2 separate regions of the Homo sapiens genome follow, and region 1 is linked to region 2. The links are contacts of gene promoters, found by promoter capture Hi-C in human tissues and cell types (Jung and others, 2019). All regions are on one chromosome and are shown on one strand. The core of a region is centred on a gene start or on the middle of the fragment in contact, and the rest is flanking DNA. Distances in the headings are between cores, read along the strand shown. Region 1 has its middle 5.3 kb from the start of DORIP1. Region 2 holds the start of PRPF39 (pre-mRNA processing factor 39).

Region 1 (3,935 bases), core at 918-3,417, 190 kb before region 2:
GTAGACTGGTTCTGGCTGGTTTACAAAGGCTGTACTGAGTGCCTTCACCTTTGACATATGAGGCCCAACTCAATAATGCATTTAAATGTTAAGTCTCCACCCTAAAGTGAACATGGGATGCATGTAACATGCATGTTTGCTTACTATGCTTGCATGCCTCGCTTTGTGAATATCCATAGCTCCTCCTATAACCTGTTGATTATGTATACTTAGCTAACCCATTTGGCATAAATCCCTGTTCCACCCTTTCCTCCCTCTAAGTGCTTGCTTTCTGTCTCTGCTGGAGGCTGTGCTTCCTGGCCTGTCAGGATGTCCAGCCTGCAAACTGCAACCCTTTATAAGAAATAAAACTCTCTTTTCTAACTTTGTACATCTCATGAATTTAAGTTAACAGAATCTTACAAGGTCTTTTATCTGTTTCTGAACTCTTAACAAAAGGCTTTCAATCACATCCTTGGACTTAGGTCTACCTTGAACTCAGGTCTACCTTGAACTCATGTTTTTCTAATAAGACCTTAGGATTTGATCTTTGCCCTGCAGCTCTATCTTACTTTGAGCATCTTCTGCTGGGAGAAAATAACAACAAGAAATAGTTTCATTTTCAGATCTAGTTCCTACATAATTCTTCTAAATTCTGTTTGAAAATTGAATATTTAGTGTAGATTTGTCTAGCCAGATGTTATGATACCTAGTTCAAAAACAAACAAAAAACAGTTGATACTTTCAAAGTTCTTCCTGGTACTCTAAGCCAGATACAGCAGTTCATTAAATACATTTTCTATTTGCTATGTTATCACATTTGCTAAACCATCTACCATGACATGACAAGGGGCTCCTTTCCTCTCGCTTCCAATAACATTTTCCTTACTTTCCTTGAAGCCCTCATTGACATCCTCCTCAATACCTGTCAGGATTCTACTAACAGTCTCCTCAAAGCTCTTTCAAGTTCTTCCTTACATCTTGTCCGAAAGGCAATGCTCATGTTTTAGGTTTTTATTACAATGGCACCCCAAATTCTGTTCTACTTATCTAATGATGTATAAATGGGCTTCAAAAAATAGTTGCTTAGAACAATAATGATTTTATTATATCTCATGATTAAGAGAATGAGAGATTTGGGCAGGTTTCAGCTGGGTGATCTTTTTTTTTTAATTATACTTTAAGTTTTAGGGTACATGTGCACAATGTGCAGGTTAGTTACATATGTATACATGTGCCATGTTGGTGTGCTGCACCCATTAACTCGTCATTTAGCATTAGGTATATCTCCTAATGCTATCCCTCCCCCCTCCCCCCACCCCACAACAGGCCCCAGAGTGTGATGTTCCCCTTCCTGTGTCCATGTGTTCTCATTCTTCAATTCCCACCTGTGAGTGAGAACATGCGGTGTTTGGTTTTTTGTCCTTGTGATAGTTTACTGAGAATGATGATTTCCAATTTCATCCATGTCCCTACAAAGGACATGAACTCATCATTTTTTATGGCTGCATAGTATTCCATGGTGTATATGTGCCACATTTTCTTAATCCAGTCTATCATTGTTGGACATTTGGGTTGGTTCCAAGTCTTTGCTATTGTGAATAGTGCCACAGTAAACATACGTGTGCATGTGTCTTTATAGCAGCATGATTTATAGTCCTTTGGGTATATACCCAGTAATGGGATGGCTGGGTCAAATGGTATTTCTAGTTCTAGATCCCTGAGGAATCGCCACACTGACTTCCACAATGGTTGAACTAGTTTACAGTCCCACCAACAGTGTAAAAGTGTTCCTATTTCTCCACATCCTCTCCAGCACCTGTTGTTTCCTGACTTTTTAATGATTGCCATTCTGACTGGTGTGAGATGGTGTCTCATTGTGGTTTTGATTTGCATTTTACTCCTTTTAGTATCAAGGGAGGTCATCAGCAGTATTTATCTGCTGAATGGGAAGTCTGGAGGATCTGGAGACCTTCACTCATATATCTGGCATTGTGGCAGGAATGACTAGAAGGCTGGGCTCAGCTTGCTCAGCTGACCAGAATATAGCCTCTCCAGGATAGGGGTCTTCTCACATCATGGTTCAGGGCTCTAAGAGCAAGTATTCAAGTGAATAAGGCAGAAATTGCATGTTCTTTTATGACCTAGCCTCAGAAGCCACGGAGTTTCATTTTTGCTGTACTCTGTAGGTCAAAGGCTACTAGTCTACCCAGATTCAAGAAGAAGGAACAAAGACCCAATGTCTCAATGGAAACAATGTAAAAGAGTGTGCAGCCATTTTTTAAAACCATCCTAGCAGACTGCACTACAGAAAACGTTAAACCAAGTTTTTTCAAAGTGAAGTGAAGTGATAGCAGAGGGAAACTTAGATATATGCAAAGGAATAAAGAGCACCAGAAATACTAAACATGTCGGCAAATAAAAAGAACACTTTTAGTGAACTAAAGTCTGATTTTTCCCTTATTTGCTTACTTTACTTTCTGTGATCTGAGGGAGAAAAAGGACCCAGCCCATGTGGCTTCACATTGGGAAAAAGTGGCACCCACTGTTTCCTAAGATTTAGAGCTAGAAGGGGCTGGAAAGAGCTGATCCTGTCCCTGAATTTTTAGAACCAAATTCCTGTATCACAGTTGAAATGATTGTCAAAAGTAAGAACATAATGTTTGTTCACTGGGGGAAAAGTCTGTTGGGGATACCCAAAGGAATACGGGAATTTGAAGATGTGAATTCTATTTTTGGAAAGCTTAATGCAACAGAGTCTGATATAATGGCAAGTGACAGCTGCTTCTGGGGCTAAGTCCCCACGACTACCCCTTTCTTCTGGAAAATATATCTAGACTAAAGTTTATGACTAAATTTAGGGCCTATGTGTTCTGATTTTTCCCCAGATAATAAGGCTATGAGATCGACTGAATTGAATTGAGTTACAGAAATTAGATTTTCATGCCCTTCCTCATTGTTATTGTTGTTTATACAGCTTACATATTTTCTAGAGCAGGAACCTTCTTAACTTCAAGATCCTCAGGGACTCAAAGTTCATGATGGGAGCTCAGCAAATGTACTAGGATAGACAGATAAATGGTATTTGTGTACATCAAACTTGATCTAACGACCACTTTACCAAGAACATGAGACCCAACAGAAAAATAAGACTTTAAACCAATTTTTTAAAGGATAAGTTTCAAAAAAATGAAATAAAATGGGGTATATTTTAAATTTTAAGACTGGTAACAAAGATAGTATGAATTATTTTTTCATTTGGCCTGGCGCAGTGGCTCATCCCTGTAGTCCCAACACTTTGGGAGGACGAGTTGGGTAGATCGCTTGAGTCCAGGAGTTCAACACCAGCCTGGGCAATGGAGTGAATCCCCTTCTCTACAAAAAATATACAAAAAAAATTAGCCGGGCATGGTAGCATACACCTGTAGTCCCAGCTACTTGGAAGGCTGAGGTGGGAGGAGCCCTTGAGCCTGGGAGGATGAGGCTGCAGTGTGGTAGGCAACAGAGTGAGACTCTGTTTCAAAAAATAAATTAATAATAATAATAAACACTTTAAAATTATTTCTTAAATTCCCATATAGCAGTAAAAATGTACAGCAAGCACAGCACAAATGACAGGAGTAAAATAGATGTAACTTTATGCAACTGCAGAATCACTTGTTTTGTCAACCAGCATGGAAACTGTCAGAACTGTCAATCAACAAAGCAAGGGCGATAGAAAATGTGTCACTTTCAAACGGTATACAATAATAGAAATAATGACAACACATCATTATATCAGAGGGAGGAGAAAAGTGATATCAGGATATTTCTTTCTCAAGGCCTCTCATTGAGGGGTAATTATGGGCTGGTTGTGTCTGTCACATAGCCTCTCCAAACAGGCTCTGTAACTTTAAGTTCAGATATCAATGTCTTCCTCTCATCTTTTCAGATATTTTTACATCCCAGGATAATTA
Region 2 (4,153 bases), core at 712-3,211:
GAAGAGCCCACTTAAAGGTTTCCACGCATAAAAGGGCTGTGGGAACAGTAGGTTCTGTGGAGTTACGGGGAGGCAGAAACAGTGAGAAGGCTGGCATGATTATGAAAACACCGTATTTTCCATTCTAAAAGTTTAGGATTTCTTTAAAAAAAAAAAAAAAGTGGAGGAGGAAACCAGTGGAGGTTTTTAAGCGGGGGAGTGAGAGCAATAGCACCGGCTTGAAAGGTAAAATGTAAAAACTAGATAAAGGAAAACAACGAATCCACAGTGAATGAAGTTGAAGATGCAAGTAGATTTTTATAAAATGGCTATTTGAGTGAATGACATCTCAGAGATAATCTTATTTACTGATAAAGAAATTGAGGCCACCTTAGAAAGACCAAAGAACCAGAAAAGGAGTGAAGGTCATGCCAAACAGTCCCTGCGTAACAGTGCCAGCAGCAAACTCTGGTCTGTCTTCCCAACGCACCACTCCCTTGACTATTCTTCCCACAGTAAACATTTAAAAGCTGCTGTTTAAACCTGTGAAACAAACAAACAAAAAACATGGCCACACTGTCAGAGAATCCAAAAAAGTTAGCTTGGAAAGTAGAAGAGGCAAATGGAAAGGGAAAGCTACTACTAGGTGCAGTGTGATGCAAGTAAAAGGTAGGAAAAAAGACTGAATTTGGTATTTCGAACGAAAGGTGCTGGTGAGAGGATTTATGATTAACCTGCGTTGTGACAAGAAACGTCGTCTTGTAAATAAGTATTTCCAGAGGAGACAGATTTCAGATGAGGAACTTGGAGCCCAGTAGTAATACTAATGCACCTGGAACAACAGATTACATGGTAAGTGACAGGTGAATGCGGGGGCACCAATGTAACAGAATCTTAAAGGGAGAGAGGCCAGATTTGAAAGAAAATTTTTTTTTATTAAAGTGGAGATGGTGGTACAACTGAAGAGGACTGCTAAGATTGTTAACGCACAGTCCCCCTCAATTTGTCCAGAGGATAACATATCCCTTCAGATACAAAGATTTTTTTTTTTGCTTGGCCAACTTTAGTCAGGTTTCTGAATCTTCTGCTAGGCTCTTCTGTACACTTTCTTTGTAAAATCCAGTTTAAGCAAAGAACTTTGCTAAGTCAGATTAGCAATAAACCCCCATCCTTGATAGCTGATCATCCTCAATATCTGATCAGGTTCTTCAGTCTCCACCATCCCCCAGGTGATGCCTCATTATCTTGGCCTGTCTTCAGCAAAAATCCTATTAGGTGGGTTTAGCCAAAATCCCCCTTACCCTGATGTTTCCTCTTAGTAATTATACATTCACTTACCACCGCTCCTTGGCTATAAATCTCCACTTGCCCATGCTGTATGAGGAGTTGAGCCCAATATCTCTTTCCCTACTGCAAGTCTCCATTGCAGTCAGTGGTCCCTATACCTGTTGCGATGGTCCTGAATAAAGCCCTCTTTTTGTGCTTTAACAAGTGTCACTAAATACTTTTTTCTTTAACAATAGCCCGTTCTCCAAACCCCTAACTCCAGAACTGTTTAGTTTTCAGGAAACCTGAGTGGGCCCAGGGTCTATACCATCGTGAGATTTGTGGGTTTAAGGCTGAATTTCTGCCCGTTTTTAGGTAAATGTTTTAGTGTGAAAGCTTGAACAATTGTAGGGAAAACCTTAGATTTGCCCCCAAAAATGACATTTTGCCGTTTTTGGTGGGGAGGGGTCAGGGCGCTGTGTTTAAGATCAGGCGTGTGAAAGCCCCTAAACGCCCTCCTTTCCTTTGGGAAGTCCCTATGGAGGGAAAGGCAGGTAGGCGCAGCGGTCCCCGCCCTCGCTCGCGGCGGGGCGGGGCGGGGCTGCGGGGGCGGGGCTGGGGCCGCACGGGCAGCGAGGATCCCTGGGAGGGCCAGGCCTGCGCGCTGCGAACCCACGTGACTTTTTCGCCTCCAGGGACACTGACGCATGCGCATCGTGCCCTGGACCAGGCGGCCGTGGCGCGGGTGGCGGCTGCTGTGCTGGCTGTGGGGACGGAGGCGGTGAAGTGCCATCTTCGGCTAGGTCGTCACAGGCTCCGGCTCATGGCATCAAGTGGCATCCATCATAAGGTCTGCTGGGGCGGGCTCCTTGAAATTAGCTGGGGCAGAGGGTGGTACTTGGTACTGAAAGGGGCCTGCCGGGTTTCAGGCCGCGCTCTGGCCGCGGCCTCCCTCTCCCGCCCTGTTTGAGGCCTGGCTCGGATTCAGCGCTCAGCTGTCCATTCCTTTCTCCTTCCCACCTGTTGGGTGGAGCGGTGCAAGGTATTTTTTTCTTAGACCAAACGTTTCACTTGAGGGGTGCGTTAGGTAGGGTGGAGAAGTGTGGGCCTCCTTCGCCTGGATTTAGGAAGATATTTGGGGGTAATTCTAAAGCCCTTGCTTCTCCCGGAGCTGGAACACGGCTGGGGTGGCTGGAAGTGGAAGGAGCACATTTGCAGCCGCCAGAGGATTGGGAAGATAATATACGTTCTATTACTAAGGCATGTGAGCGCCTTGTAGGGCACGTTCTGTCTTCTGACTACATAAGCAACACTTTTGCGACCCTAAGTCACAGCACCCACAGCTTTTGGCAGGATACTTTAAAACAGAAAAAACACATCATTGATCCTGGCAGGATTTTTTAAGGGATTGTGCTTAAGAATGTTTAACTTTGGTAATCAGAGACCACCACTGGTGTTTTTCTCCAAAATCACATCTTTAAGTTAATTAATACTTGAAGTTAATAAATAATACTGCTCAGTGTATTAGTAATGATGCCATAATACCATGTGAATTTATGCTGATTCAAATGTTGTTTTTTTCGTTTGATACTCATATGGCCTTCTGTTTGAGGACTTCAGATTATTTAGCAACTGATTTAATCTGTTCAGAAATAAACTTTGCTACAGCTGGAAAGCGTGAGGCTTGAGAAAGCAAGTTTTGGACAGGGACGTATGAAGCTCATGTTGAAACTTAAGTGTTTTAGGCTGTATGGGAGCTTGAATGGAGTGAAAAGAACAAGCGTCTACTGTCAGGTTTTCCTCCTCCCTCTAGATTTATAACCTCATTCTAGAGTTGCAAAAGTTGGAACTTTCCACTGTTCACTCTCTAGTAGGGATAAAGTGATGGAAAGGAGTTCTGTTAAAGAGGACTAGTACTTAGATTGTGAACTTTGAAGTAGGGGTTGAGCATAGATGGCTCATAGGTGGTATGAGACACTATTTGTGTAAAGTCTCAGAATATTTTTCCTTGCTTATAATTGAATAAGAAAGAAGATGTTTAAAAGTCAAATGATAAAAATTGTATGTGCTGTTTTCTGTGGTATGTTTTAACAAATCTACATGGAAGATAGGACTTCAAAAAAAATTAAAAATAGCCGAAGGAGGAAGAAGGTAGTGTAGTTCCAGCCAAATGGTACGTTTTCCAAAAAGCCGAAGATTGATGTAGACGTTTATGTAAATACATATACAAAATCTAGTTTCTGGAACACAGTGTTTAATATGTAGAGACTTTAAAAAGTCGGCGTGTGACTACTTAGCCCTTAAAAACAGCTGCCAAAACCAGTGGTTATGATAGTCTCTTTTCTTCTTACATCCCAAATCTCCAGATTGCCTTGTGGATGAGATTTGCTTATTGCAAAGCTACTTGTTTTGCTCTACCCAAAACTCCTTTCAGTCTTTAGTGATGACTTCAGATTTTTATATATTGCTGTGTTTATGAAAAAGAATAGTCAATGGTATAATTTTTAAGTACCTCTACAGGAATAAGAGGCATACAGAAAAAAAAAAAAAGGTATTAGGTCAAAAGATGGCATTTCACTCTCGTTGCCCAGGCTGGAGTGCAATGGCGCTATTGGCTCACCGCAACCTCCGCCTCCCGGGTTCAAGTCATTCTTCTGCCTCAGCCTCCCCAGTAGCTGGGATTACAGATGCGCGCCACCACGCCTAATTTTTTGTATTTTTAGTAGAAACGGGGTTTCACCATGTTAGCCAGGCTGGTCTAGAACTCCTGACTTCAGGTGATCTGCCTGCCTCGGCCTCCCAAAGTGCTGAGATGACAGGCATGAGCCACCGTGCCCGGCCCAAATGTCCCATTTTTAATTAAGTGTTAGTAATTGAAGTCATCCTCCAAAAGACCTTTTAAATTTTA

The links. Contacts are between HindIII fragments. The study calls those that stand out against the background at their distance.
Region 1: a contact is called between a fragment that was not itself captured here and the fragment with the promoter of PRPF39 in region 2, in 1 of the 25 tissues and cell types used here (dorsolateral prefrontal cortex).

What each region holds. Positions count from the first base shown.
Region 1 is chr14:44,890,052-44,893,986 of GRCh38, forward strand. No RefSeq gene overlaps it. Among named protein-coding and RNA genes, the nearest start is that of DORIP1, 5.3 kb to the right of the region's middle. The HindIII fragment of the contact is 5,271 bases long and covers 1-3,935 here.
Region 2 is chr14:45,082,155-45,086,307 of GRCh38, forward strand. PRPF39 (pre-mRNA processing factor 39) reads left to right here and starts at 1,962. Exons shown (of 14, transcript NM_017922.4): 1 at 1,962-2,095. PRPF39-DT (PRPF39 divergent transcript) reads right to left here and starts at 1,872. Exons shown (of 2, transcript NR_184211.1): 1 at 1,318-1,872; 2 at 894-1,233. RefSeq lists a silencer at 1,667-1,956. The HindIII fragment of the contact is 8,045 bases long and covers 457-4,153 here.